Linked DNA regions of Homo sapiens: region 2 is linked to region 1. Evidence: promoter capture Hi-C in human tissues and cell types (Jung and others, 2019). All regions are on one chromosome and are shown on one strand. Each heading gives the region's core, a stretch centred on a gene start or on the middle of the fragment in contact. The rest is flanking DNA. Distances are from core to core; before and after follow the strand shown. Region 1 holds the start of REP15 (RAB15 effector protein). Region 2 has its middle 6.9 kb from the start of PPFIBP1.

Region 1 (6,266 bases), core at 2,679-5,178:
GAAGCTGCAGGCATCATGGGGATTATGAATGCTCCTTTCCTCGCTTTCCCCCAGGACTTCTTTGGGAGATAAAGTTGAAGAGAAGGGATTTGGGGGTTGGTGTTCCCCAATGTTGCAAGGCGTATTTTAATTTGAAGAACACCAGGCTCAATGGAAAGAAAACAGGGCATGCACTTAAGCCTAAATCTAGATTGAAGTTAATGACGCGCCTTTAGATTCACTGTGGATCCTGTTTACTGGGCTGGATAAAGAATCAAAGAGTGGATCTGGATTATCGTACTAAGCACTTTTGATTTTTTTTTCTTTTTTCTTTTTTTTTTTTTTTGAGACGGAGTCTCTCTTTGTCACCCAGGCTGGAGTGCAGTGGCGCCATCTTAGCTCACTCCAACCTCCACTTCCCGGGTTCAAGTGATTCTCCTGCCTCAGCCTCCTGAGTAGCTGGGATTACAGGCATGTGCCACGGCTAATTTTTGTGTTTTTAGTAGAGATGGGGTTTCACCATGTTGGTCAGGTTAGTCTTGAACTCCTGACCTCGTGATCTGCCTGCCTCAGCCTCCCAAAGTGCCGGGATTACAGGTGTGAGCCACCGCGCTTGGCTATTCTTAATTCTATAACGAATAGCAGTTCTACGAGGTGGGTATTGTCATCTCCGGTTTTTAGATAGGAAAATCAGGAGGCATTAGGGCTACAGAAGAAATCAAATGGCACCCTCAAGTCTACCTAAGGAAAAAGTACATCTACAGGGTGGGGGCAGGGTGCAAGGAACTAACAAAGAATGATGAAGCACCCCGGAAGGGACAATGGCCTGAGAGGGGAAGGGGAGGGAGCTGGAGTCTCAGAGAAGGGCCAGCTGGACAGGAGCTGTCTGGAACCAAGCATCGTAGTGAGGCAGGGAAAGTTGGGCTAATACATTCCAGACCTGTCCCCTTTCTGATCTCGTGCTCTCCACTGGATGGAAGCCAGAGTGATGCAGTTAGAGCCCAGAAGAAGGCAGACAAGGTGGGGAGTAGATGTGGAGGTTGAAATGAGAATAACCAGCACAGAGGTTTGGTTGGATACGTGTAAATAAAAGAGCTGGGATTTTAAGCAGGTTTGTCCTCAACTAAACTCGAAAGCTCTCACTCCTTCTACCATGACAAAGTTTTTACGACTCTGCATTGTGGCCTATTGCTGGTCATGATATCAATTTGGTGGCTTGCAGTCAGCATTTTACAAACCGATGTAGGACAAACTATCAGAGTGCACTGCAACATGCTTCAGTTATACAGATCACAGCAACAAATGTATTTCTTACTATGGAATACCTGCATGACGCCACATTGCGCTCATATGTCTTAATTCAGCCTCACAGGAACATGCCCTAAATTCCAAAATACAGAAAAGGCCAAGGCCATAAGAAGACTGTCAGAAACAGAAACGATTTTAAGAGGTTGGATGCAGTTGAAAGGATTCAGCCCATGTTTCTAATGGCTGCGTATCAGTGAACAGGTGGTTCAACAACAGGAAAAGTAGCCACAGATTAAGGCCAGGAAATGGAGGAAAAATGAGCAACAGTAACCAGCTAGCATTTTTGCAGGTGAACACCTTTGTTGTCTCAGCAATTCCAGTAGTTTAAAATCAGAGAATTTTCTTTTTATGTATTTATTGAGATGGGGTCTTGCTCTGTTGCCTAGGCTGGAGGGCAGTGGCACGATCACGACTCACTGCAACCTTGACCTCCCGGACCCAAGCAGTCCCCCTACCTCAGCCTCCCAAGTAGCTGGGACTACAGGCACACATCACCATGACTTTTTGTATTTTTTGTAGAGATGGGGTTTCACCATGTTGTCCAGGCTGGTCTTGAATTCCTGGGCTCAAGCAATCCTCCTGCCTCAGACTCCCAAAGTGTTGGGATCACAGCTACTCTTCCTGGCCAAAGAATTTTCTTTTCTTCTTCTTTTTTTTTTAATTGATTTTTACTTAACCTAATTTATAGGCTTACAGGGAATTTTCTTTACACGACTGTAGAATATGGGCTTTGTAACTGGGCAGACTTTACTTTTTTGTTACAAGCCACTTAATAGATTTATGAGTTATCTAGCCTCTTTGATTTGGCAAATAGAAACCTCTTAGAGTCATGGAAGACACATGCAAATCACGCTAATATATGTAAAGCATCTGACTTGACTTACAAGTGCAATAAATAATGGTGATTCCTTTTTGTACTGTTATAATTCCACACTGGCTTTTAAGTAAAAATGGTTATTATATGTGAATACACCTTCCTTACTGCAAAGGCTAAACAAGTATTATTAAAAGGAATAGTTTTATAGGTCACTGTTTTTAAATCATAGGCAGAGCTAACACTAAAGTGAATCTCAAAGTAAATCCCATCAAAGTCCTCTCAGTGCAGAGACAGCAGCTAGGGAGAAGACAGAATAAGGTAAGTGTTAGAGGAAAAGAACGCTGTGAGTTTTGTGCAGGAGTCCTGAACCCAAACTATTTTTTTTTTTTTAAAGATGAGGATTCACTCTGTTGCCCAGGCTAGAGCACAGTGGTGCAATCACAGCTCACTGTAGCCTTAAACTCCTGGGCTCAAGCGATCCTCCCACCTCAGCCTACTGAGTAGCTGAGACCATAGGCATAAGCCACTGTGCCTGGCTTGAAACTGGCATTACAAATGTAATTAAACCTGCTCTGTAGCCTTACCCACTACTTTATCCTACCCATCTCCCACCAACAGATGCAAAAACACATTTTATACTTTTGAGTGCTAGACTTATTATTTCAAACAGACACTTTTTTTTTGCAAATCAAACTTTAAATGTGACTTTATTATCTCTCTTCCATTTTTATTATTGAATAAGTGAATGAAATATTAAACTAAATTATAACTTTTCCTGAACTGTTTTTAAATCATAGGCAGAGCCAGGGTTTTCTTTTTTTCTCTCTCTCTCTGTAATTGCGACATGAATGTACTTTGATCCCAGTAATCATTTTCAATCAATGGGAAAACAAATGAAAAAAAATCCCATGCTGGAATGATGCAAATAGGTGAGCTTGCTTATTAGAATCTTTTTTTCTTTTCCTCTTACAGGCCACTCACATAATACATATCCAAGTCAGAGAATGCTGATATAAACCTTGCCCACCTCTCTCAGCCCGTCTTTCTTACTCAGACAATTTCTGAGCAGCTCTTTGATGAACACACAATCTTCAGTTTCCAGGACAAACTGAGCCACAGCCTTCCCTCCTGGCAGATGGCTCCTCACCATCTGACTTTTGACACTGTCCAGGACAACTCCCCTGATGTCTTTAGGCTTTCCTGGCATACCAAAGATGATAAACAGACCCAGGCAATCCTCTCCTATTAAGTTACAGAATTCTTCCAGCTTATCAAATCTACTTTTCTTCCAGGAAGACTCCTCTACCCTTGATTCTGGATTGGAAAGGTCACAAGGCTTAGATTCCACAGGAGGAGGTGAAGACATCTGCAGAGTCTGTACTGCGAGCTGAAGCTTTATTTGCTTGTTGGATCCCCAAAAGGTCCAAATCCAGTCTGCACCAAACAGGAAGGCTTGGTGCTTGGTCATCTTGGTGGTGGTCAGCCACTCATCAACTCCCTTTTCTTGGCAGAAAGTGATGAAATGGATTAAGAAGATCTCATTCAGAGTATTTGCAGCTGGGCAGAGTTTACTTGGAGGATATTCAAATCCAAGGTACTCCTTCAGTTTCTGAGCTGCATGGACTATAGCTTCACTGACCACCTCACAGACGACGGGCACCTCTTTGCTGTCCTTCAGAGCCAACTGTTGCGATGCTTTCTGCCCCATTTTCTCTGCATCCAAATATCAAACATGTGAATCTGGTTCAGACGTACTTCTTTTTCAAAGTAAAAGTTCTGCAGGGAGGCCACATCTGTTAATGGTTCATGTTTTTCTAACTCTACAGCTTCCTCGGGTGTAGTTAAGCATATATACATACAGCTAAATAAACATGTTAGTTCTCTCTGTTTGTCAGTTGGGTGTGTTGTGTTCATACAGTTCCTGCTGGTTTATTAAGTTAAAGATACTAAATTTCACACAAAACATCTGTTCTATCTAGGTTATATTCACTCTACTTTTAATCTTTGGTAATCTCTTCCAACATGTTTCCTCTTTCCAAGTTTTAGTTGAAGTAAAAATAGCACGTTAGTTCTTTTTGTTTTTGTTTTTTGAGACAGGGTCTCACTCTGCTACCCAGGCTGGAGTGCAGTGGCGCAATCATGGCTCACTGCAGCTTCAACCTCCCTGGGCTCAGGTGATCTCACCTCAGCCTCTTGAGTAGCTGGGGCTACAAGTGTATACCACCACACCTGGCTAATTTTTGTGTATTTTTTGTAGAGGTGGGGTTTCACCATGTTGTCCTGGCTGGTCTCAATCTCCTAGGCTCAAGCAATCCTCCCGCCTCGGCCTCCCAAAGTGCTGGGATTATAGGCATGAGCCACTGCACCCAGCCCTATGTTAGTTTTTTAAATATCCATACACCTCTTTCTACAACTAACTTCTTCCAATCTCTAGGTGAGTCATTTCCATTTGCTTTTCCTATTTTCTTTTTTTGTTTGTTTTTGTTTCTTTTACCTTCTGCCATGATTCTTCATTCCCCAGCTCAGTTGCTTCTTTTCCTACAAAAGCTTCTCAAACAAAGGCCTCAAATTCCTATCTGTTGATACACATTATAAACTCCATTCGAACAAATTTATGGCAGTTTATAAAGAGATTGTGTTATTTTCTATGTCAGAAACAAAGCCTGTTACTATGAACAACGGAAAATGAAATAAGGGCAATAAAAATGAGGCAATTATCAATTGACTTTATTTCCTTTCATATGGTAACACCAGCAGTGTATGATATTTGTAAATAAAATACGTCATAAAAAAATTTAACCTTATTACCTATTATCAGTTAGGTTATACCATCCTGAATAAAAAATATTTGGGCCGGGCATGGTGGCTCACGCCTGTAATCCCAGCACTTTGGGAGACCGAGGGGGGCGATTCACGAGGTCAGGAGATTGAGACCTTCCTGGCTAACACGGTGAAACCCCGTCTCTACTAAAAATACAAAAACAAAATTAGCCAGGCGTGGTGGCAGGTACCTGTAGTCCCAGCTGCTTGGGAAGCTGAGGTGGGAGAATGGCGTGAACCCAGGAGGCGGAGCTTGCAGTGAGCTGAGATTGTGCCACTGCACTCCAGCCTGGGCAACAGAGCAAGACTCCGTCTCAAAAAAAAAAAAAATGGCGTCTGTAACAGTTTCCTGGTATTTTCAACCAGGTTCTAAGAACAAATTGATTTTTTGAAGTGGTGACATCTAGTCACATTAAAATAAAATCCAAATAAAGTAAGTTCAATACAGTTACCACATAATGAATGGTAGAGTTTAAAGAAAATTATTATTAGCATCAAATCAATTGTTATGAATAAATAGTAATTTGATATTACAAGTTCTTTAATGAATACCTTGGTAACTTGCTGACAACTTAAAAGATAATACCACTGATATTCAAATACAGTTTATAATCAAGTCCAGTGGCAGATACTGAACCGCCCACCTCCACCTCAATTTGTGAAAACCTGTCTTTTGTAGGGTTGGCTACCATGGGTAATTACGCAGCACTGAATAAAAAATAGAATATTTTTCTAATACTTCTACAAATATAATAAACACAGTAACAGTTTTTGCTGCAGCGATTTTCTTTACAAAGAATATTTGGGCCCAGTGCTACAGAAAAACATGAACTACATCTTATCGTCACAAAATAGCCATTATAAAATGAATTTTGCAGCCTCTGTTTTTTTGAACTTTGAAATAAAATGTTCAGACAAATATTCAACTTTTTAAAAACCTCCATTCATTGATAGCCTGAGAAATGTACAATGAACATGTTTAGGCAGACTGCTAGTATTTTGCTGTAATGACACAGTTAACAAAGAGAAAAGAAACAATACTGTAAAGGTTTCTGCTTTGCTTTTGGCTTCCTCAAAAACTATTTCTACAAATTTTGGGGAGAGGAGGTGATTCTGAATGTATTCAAGTTAGTGGTAGGCCAGGCAGAGTGGCTCACACCTGTAATTCCAGCACTTTGAAAGGCTGAGGTGGGAGGATCACTTGAGGACAGGAGTTTGAGACCAGGCTGGACAACATGGTGAGACCCTGTTTCTACAAAAAAACTTTTTGAAAAATCAGCCAGGTGTGAAGGGTGGGGTGGGGTGGGAGGCCACACACCTGTAATCCTAGCTATTAGGGAAG
Region 2 (6,266 bases), core at 3,767-6,266, 180 kb after region 1:
GAGGTGGGCGGATCACCTGAGGTCAGGAGTTCGAGACCAGCCTGACCAACATGGAGAAACCCCGTCTCTACTAAAAATAGAAAAAAAATTCGCCAGGCGTGATGGCGCATGCCTGTAATCCCAGCTACTCGGGAGGCTGAGGTGGGAGAATTGCTTGAACCTGGGAGGCTGAGGTTGCGGTGAGCCGAGATCGCACCATTGCACTCCAGCCTGGGCAACAAGAGCAAAACTCCATCTCAAAAAAAAAAAAAAAGGGATCTTTCTCATATCCATCTGGATCCTGCTTTACTGACTTTCTCCCCAAAGACATCTGTCTTGTGTCTCATTTAATCCTCACAAACATCCTGTAAGGTAAGTGTTATTAGCATCATTTTGACATGAGGAATCACTCTCCAGGGTTATACAAGTAAATTGCTCCAGATTCCCCCAGAACTGGGATTGAAACCAAGGTCTATTTGATTCCAAACCTATTTTGTCTTTCTGTGTCTGAAGCATTGATTGTCCACAATTTACACTCTCACTTCTGCCCTTTGCAGTAACAGAACAAGCTGACTCTTTAGTTACACCATCCCCAAATCTGAGCAGGCTTGAGGACACCTCCCTTTCTTTGGATGCAGGTACCAGAAGAGGCTCACCCTACTCATCAAATCCACAGCATTTGCCTGTCTGGTCTTTACAGGCTTCCAGCTGCAGCTCTCTAAAGCACAACCCTGATCACTCCTGACTCTAAACACTTAAATGAGTCTCCCTTTACCAAGGAACAAAACTCATCAAACTTTCTTGACTGGTGTCCAAAAGCCTTCACATCCTTGCCCCCAACTTACCTTTCTGAACTTATTTTCGACTCTTCTTCATATGCCCACACTGCATGCACTGCATGACTTTGCACCCATATTTCCTAATAATACATCCTCACTGTGATTTTTGCCTGTTTCTACAAAAATCTACCTCACAGTGTTGTTGCAAGGATCTGACAAGATGTCATATGCAAGATGACAGAGCACCTTGCCTGACACATCATAGGTGATAAGCAAACATATTTTCCTTTTTCCTACAACATAAAACAATTGTACTATAATTTTTATAGGTGCCTTATGTTCCTTTCTGGCTCCAAGTTTCTTACAGTCCTCAAGAACAGAATGCTAATTTATTTCATCTTTACATCCTTTGTAGGATCTAGAACCATGTTTTGTCCCATAGACATTGATTAAATATTCACTGAATGAATAAGTGAATGAATGCTGTCTTTTGCTTGAAACTCATAACCTGCTATGGTCTAGGTCTTCAGAAGTTCAGGAATAACTTGACCAGACTGATCACAAAGGATCTGGGTGCCTCCAGTTGTTGTTATCCCAGTCACACTGCCAAACACAGAGTGGGTTAAACACATGGTATAAATCATGAACCCAAATCCAAATCAAACAAGCTTAGCTTTAGAATTCCTTCTAAAGGAAATTACTGCTTATTCTGTCTGATCCTAAGCGTGGCATTGGTGATAATCCAGACGTTATTTTAATATCCTTTCATTGAATACTAAGCCACTACCTAGCTATCACCATTGACATCATTTCTGAATCCAACCCTCCTCCCCATTCCCTTCTTGCCCATAGAGACAGGTTAGAAATAGGCACAATATCTTGCTCCAAGTGGGGAGTCTTATTTTAATCACTTTTTCCTTACAACCCAATTGTGCTGGTTATTCTCTGGTTACCCACCAGATACATCTAAAAATCTAGTTACATTCAACTTACTCATTTTATTAGTCTATTTATAAGTTGAAAAATTTTAATTAAAAATAAGGATAATTGGTTTTCATGGTCTTTGATTAATGTTCAACGAATGACTAAACTAAACAAATTACATTCTCTTCAACAATTAACCTCATTACAAACTTCCTTAATTGAATCTCCTAAAAAGTATGTCTGGTTTCTGTATTCTGAGACAGGTCAACAAGATAGGGAGCCAGCCTTTTCAATACACAGGAGCAATTCCTGTTTTTCATTGCATGTAGGTGATCTGCATAATGTTTGCCCCAAGCAGCCCAAGCCTTTCTACAGCTGTCAAGCCTTTGGGTGGGAGAGCCCCGCCATCCTTCCTATCAACATGCACTGTGCATTGGCCTCTTCAACGTCTTAGGAACACGCCCAGTAACAACAGAGCATTACTCAAAACCAGTAAGTCCCCCCTTGATTTCCACCTGCCACAATATTAAATAGGGCTCAGTTTTAAAATAATACGTCGTGGCTCACTACTGATCAAAATTTACCCAACTTGACATTCCCTGGACCAGTGCCATATATACAATTCCGAGGCTTCAGACTGATCCATTAATTTCTACTTCACTCACCTGTCACCTAAACAATCATTAATTTATTGTCTGTTTAGTCTTTCCTAATATTTAACTAGAATTCTTTTACTTAACTAGAACTTACATTTTAAAATGGCAGGTTAACTTTAACCCAGACACTTCTGTCAAAGAAGACTAAGAGAAATAAATTTTAGCTAAAACAGATGTAAGATGATGATGGAAAAATTGGCTTAAACAAATGCTTTCATTGAAGAAATTTTCCTGGCATGTTGAAACAAGTTGCTGATAAATCTTCAGGATATAGCATCTATCTCCCAAGTCCCATAAAAATTAGATTCTCTGCTACTTTCCCTTGCTCTTCCAGAGTCTATCTTCAGAAATTCCTTTCCACTGAAGGATGCTGACTGTGCAACATCTGAATTGCCAGATAATCAGTACTGTGGTTTGTTAAACTAGCCAGGGTATTAAGGAAGCAATGGGAAAGGATCCCAACTATCACTTTAGTATGTCTGTCTTTTTTTTTTTTTCTTTGAGACAGTGTCTCGCACTGTCACCTGGGCTAGAGTGCAGTGACGTGATCTCGGCTCACTGCAACCTCCGCCTCCCAGATTCAAGCAATTCTCCTGCCTCAGCCTTCTGAGTAGCTGGGGTTACAGGCACCCACCACCACACCCAGCTAATTTTTTGTATTTTTAGTAGAGATGGGTGTCACCATGTTGGTCAGGCTGGTCTCGAACTCCAGACCTCATGATTTGCCCACCTGGGCCTCCCAAAGTGCTGGGATTACAGGCATGAGCCACCGTGCCCAGCCAGTATGTCCGTCTTTTAAAGGCTTTAAACCTCTTAATCTTATTTCACTTTAATTTCCATTCGATCCTAAACGGCTTGAATTCTGAATTATACATAATGTAATAGCCATATTAGTGCCTTTTACATTCATTTCTGAAAAAAGGTCATCACCCATTTCTGAATAAAAGAAAGTGTAAGAAATATCACCTCTTCTTTGGTAAAATTAGTTAAGTGTGTGCTCTGAGTTATAAGACCCAGCATCATTTGACAGTTTTGAGCTTCAGTTTCTTCATCTGTGATTGGGATGTCATTAATGCAAACAAACTAAAAAAGGGTGTTCCATGAAACTCTGATGCTGCTAACTCCACAACTTCCTTCTGAGAGTCCGAAATGGCTCTGTATACCCAGGATTCCTCGGCAACCTTCCTACGACACTTCAATAGCACTGATTGAAGCATGGATTCCCACCTGAATGAAGACAGCCAGGTATAAACTTGTCAATGGCCTGGGGCAAACAGGCACAGGAACTGTTCAGCAGAGATCTGTACTGAACACCCACTAACGGGGCCATGTATATCTTCCCTCAAGACATTTAATATGACACATTGAATATGTCTAGAAAACCAGACCATAGAGTAGAGCAGAAGCAAGGAGGCACATGGAATAAAGGTCATAAACAGAATGAATACAGGTCATGCACAGAATAGTAAGTAGAAGCATGAGGTCTAGAAGATGAAATCAGAAGAAAGTAGACAGGAGCTGAAGTAAAACATAAAGCAGAAAAGGGTGGCATGTGCTGAGAGTCACACCTAGAAAAAGCAGTAGTCAGGAGCCATGAGGTGGTGGATGCCACAGGGGTGGTGGACGCTAGCTACTGAAGGAATCAAAAATAGGACAGCAATAATTAAAATGGTAATGATGATAGTGAACACATGCCGATTTTTGTGTATCAGGTACTACAGGTTGAGCATTTCTAATCTGAAAATCTGAAATTCAAAATGCTCCAAAATCTGAAATTTTGAGTGCCAACACGACGCTCAAAGGAAATGTCCATTGGAGCAATTCGGATTTCAGATTTTTAGATTAGGGATGCTGGCAAGTTACTTATAAGAACCTGTAAGTAAAATCCAAATATTCCAAAATCTGAAAAAAAAAAAAAAAATTGAAATCCTAAACACTTCTGGTCCCAAGCAGTTCAGATAAGGGAGACTCGAACTGTATTTTAAATGCCTTTAAATATATTACCTTCAACCCTGTTTCCACTTTGCAGATGAGAAAACCAAGCCACAGAGAGCTTAAGTAACTTGTCCATGGTCACATAACTAGGAAGTAGCATAATACAACCGAGTTTGGCAGTACAGTCTGTGCTGAGAGAGAAGCTCAGCCGTAAGAATAATAGACTAGTAGATTCACTCTTGAATCCCGGACTGTGCTCCAGTTCTCATGAGGCTTGACGGTTCAGTGGTTTTCCTGCATTTCCTCCCTTCCTCAGGTAGTCTCACACTAAATTTCTATCACCTGAGGTAATCTGAATACTTTTAATGCCTTACGACTTGAAAGCGCTTAAGGAATGCCGTGACTTTAAACGAGATAATAAATGTGAGAGCATTTTACCTTCCCTGAAAAAAATAGAGCAGACAAAGTGAAGTGTTTTATTCTGAAGCGAGGTGAAAGTTCTTAATGTATAATCTGGTGATCAAGATTAAGTTTGCCTCTAAATCATATTACATTGTGACATTACTTTAGGTCAACCTCAGTCTGTCTTGGTGGTATATTTTTGTCACACATTGTGGGAATTTTAGAATGTATTAGTTTACAACATATAATTATCATTGCATATTAATTAAATATCATTATATTAATTACATGGCCCTGTTCTACTTCATTCCTTCCCTAAGCAACTAGCATGAAGAAGCTATGATTACAAGGGCAATGAACAAAGGGCCAAAAGAAAAGAAGCTTGAATATTGTTTTATCTTTCTACAGACTCTCATATCAGCAGCCAGATCACTTAGGGTCTTGAAGGAGTTTAGATTTATTTATTTTAACTATAATGAGAACAGAGTCAGGACATAGCATATCTCATGTTACTAAAATCAAAACAAAAACAAAAAAACAGGCCGGGCACGGTGGCTCACGCCTGTAATCCCAACACTTTGGGAGGCCAAGGCGTGCGGATCACGAGGTCAGTAGTTTGAGGCCGGCCTGACCAGCCTGACCAACATGGTGAAACCCCGTCTCTACTAAAAATACAAAAATTAGCCAGGCGCGATGGCGCACGCCTGTACTCAAGAGGCTGAGGCAGGAGAATCGCTTGAACCCAGGAGGCGGAGGTTGCAGTGAACTGAGATCATGCCATTGCACTCCAGCCTGGGCAACAGAGTGAGACTCCGTCTCAAAACAAACAAACAAAAAACTTCCCTCAATCAACCCTATTTCACTTTTATTGAGTTACATTTATGAGAGTAACCAGTAGTATAAGGAAAGATGCTGCTTCTTATAGGACTGGTTTGTAAAGTTCTGAGCTTTCCTATCAAAAGGGCAATCAATGGATATCGTGACTTAGTGATTCCATCTGTTACCCACACAACAGGTAGATTTGGTCACTGGGCAGGTGTTAACCCAATGACCACAACCAAGGAGGATTTAACAAGGGGATTTTAAAAATTAATGTAACACATAAGGAGAACAGGACTAGTTCCCAAAGCATTGACTCTCTTAGCTGGGGGCTGAGCCAGGTTTTATAACCATAGGGTAATGAGGTGTGATCTGATTGGATCTTGCAATGAGGTAATGTCGGGAGGCATGATCTGACTGCTTCCTGCCATCGGGACACCAGAACTCGATTTGATTGGATCCTGCATCCGGCCGTGAGGTGTCTACTTCTTAATTCAGTCTCCAATCCTCCTTCTGAGCATTTAAGTTCACTCTGTTGTTGCACATTTAGTTCATCTGGGCATGCTCTGGTTACATGACCTGACATCTGTTGAGACAGAAAAACAGCTCACAGCTTTGTTACATAAAAGTTGAACCCAATTGTTCTGGGGTGGCTACACATCATCATGTTAAGAAGGAAAAGATTTGGACCCTAGATTCAGCCCCCTTTGGGAGAGGTTGAATTGCAAAGAAGAACTGCTAAGATTTCTTCTGTTCACTATGCTATGAAATC

What was found. Contacts are between HindIII fragments. The study calls those that stand out against the background at their distance.
Region 2: a contact is called between a fragment that was not itself captured here and the fragment with the promoter of REP15 in region 1, in 1 of the 25 tissues and cell types used here (spleen).

Annotation. Positions count from the first base shown.
Region 1 is chr12:27,694,109-27,700,374 of GRCh38, reverse strand. It overlaps REP15 (RAB15 effector protein), which reads right to left and starts at 3,928. Exons shown (of 1, transcript NM_001029874.3): 1 at 2,779-3,928. The coding sequence starts at 3,812. The coding sequence ends at 3,102. It overlaps PPFIBP1 (PPFIB scaffold protein 1), which reads right to left. Exons shown (of 30, transcript NM_003622.4): 30 at 4,811-6,266. All of the region lies in intron 3 of MRPS35-DT (MRPS35 divergent transcript), which reads left to right. The HindIII fragment of the contact is 6,420 bases long and covers 1,598-6,266 here.
Region 2 is chr12:27,514,178-27,520,443 of GRCh38, reverse strand. No RefSeq gene overlaps it. Among named protein-coding and RNA genes, the nearest start is that of PPFIBP1, 6.9 kb to the left of the region's middle. The HindIII fragment of the contact is 3,550 bases long and covers 3,242-6,266 here.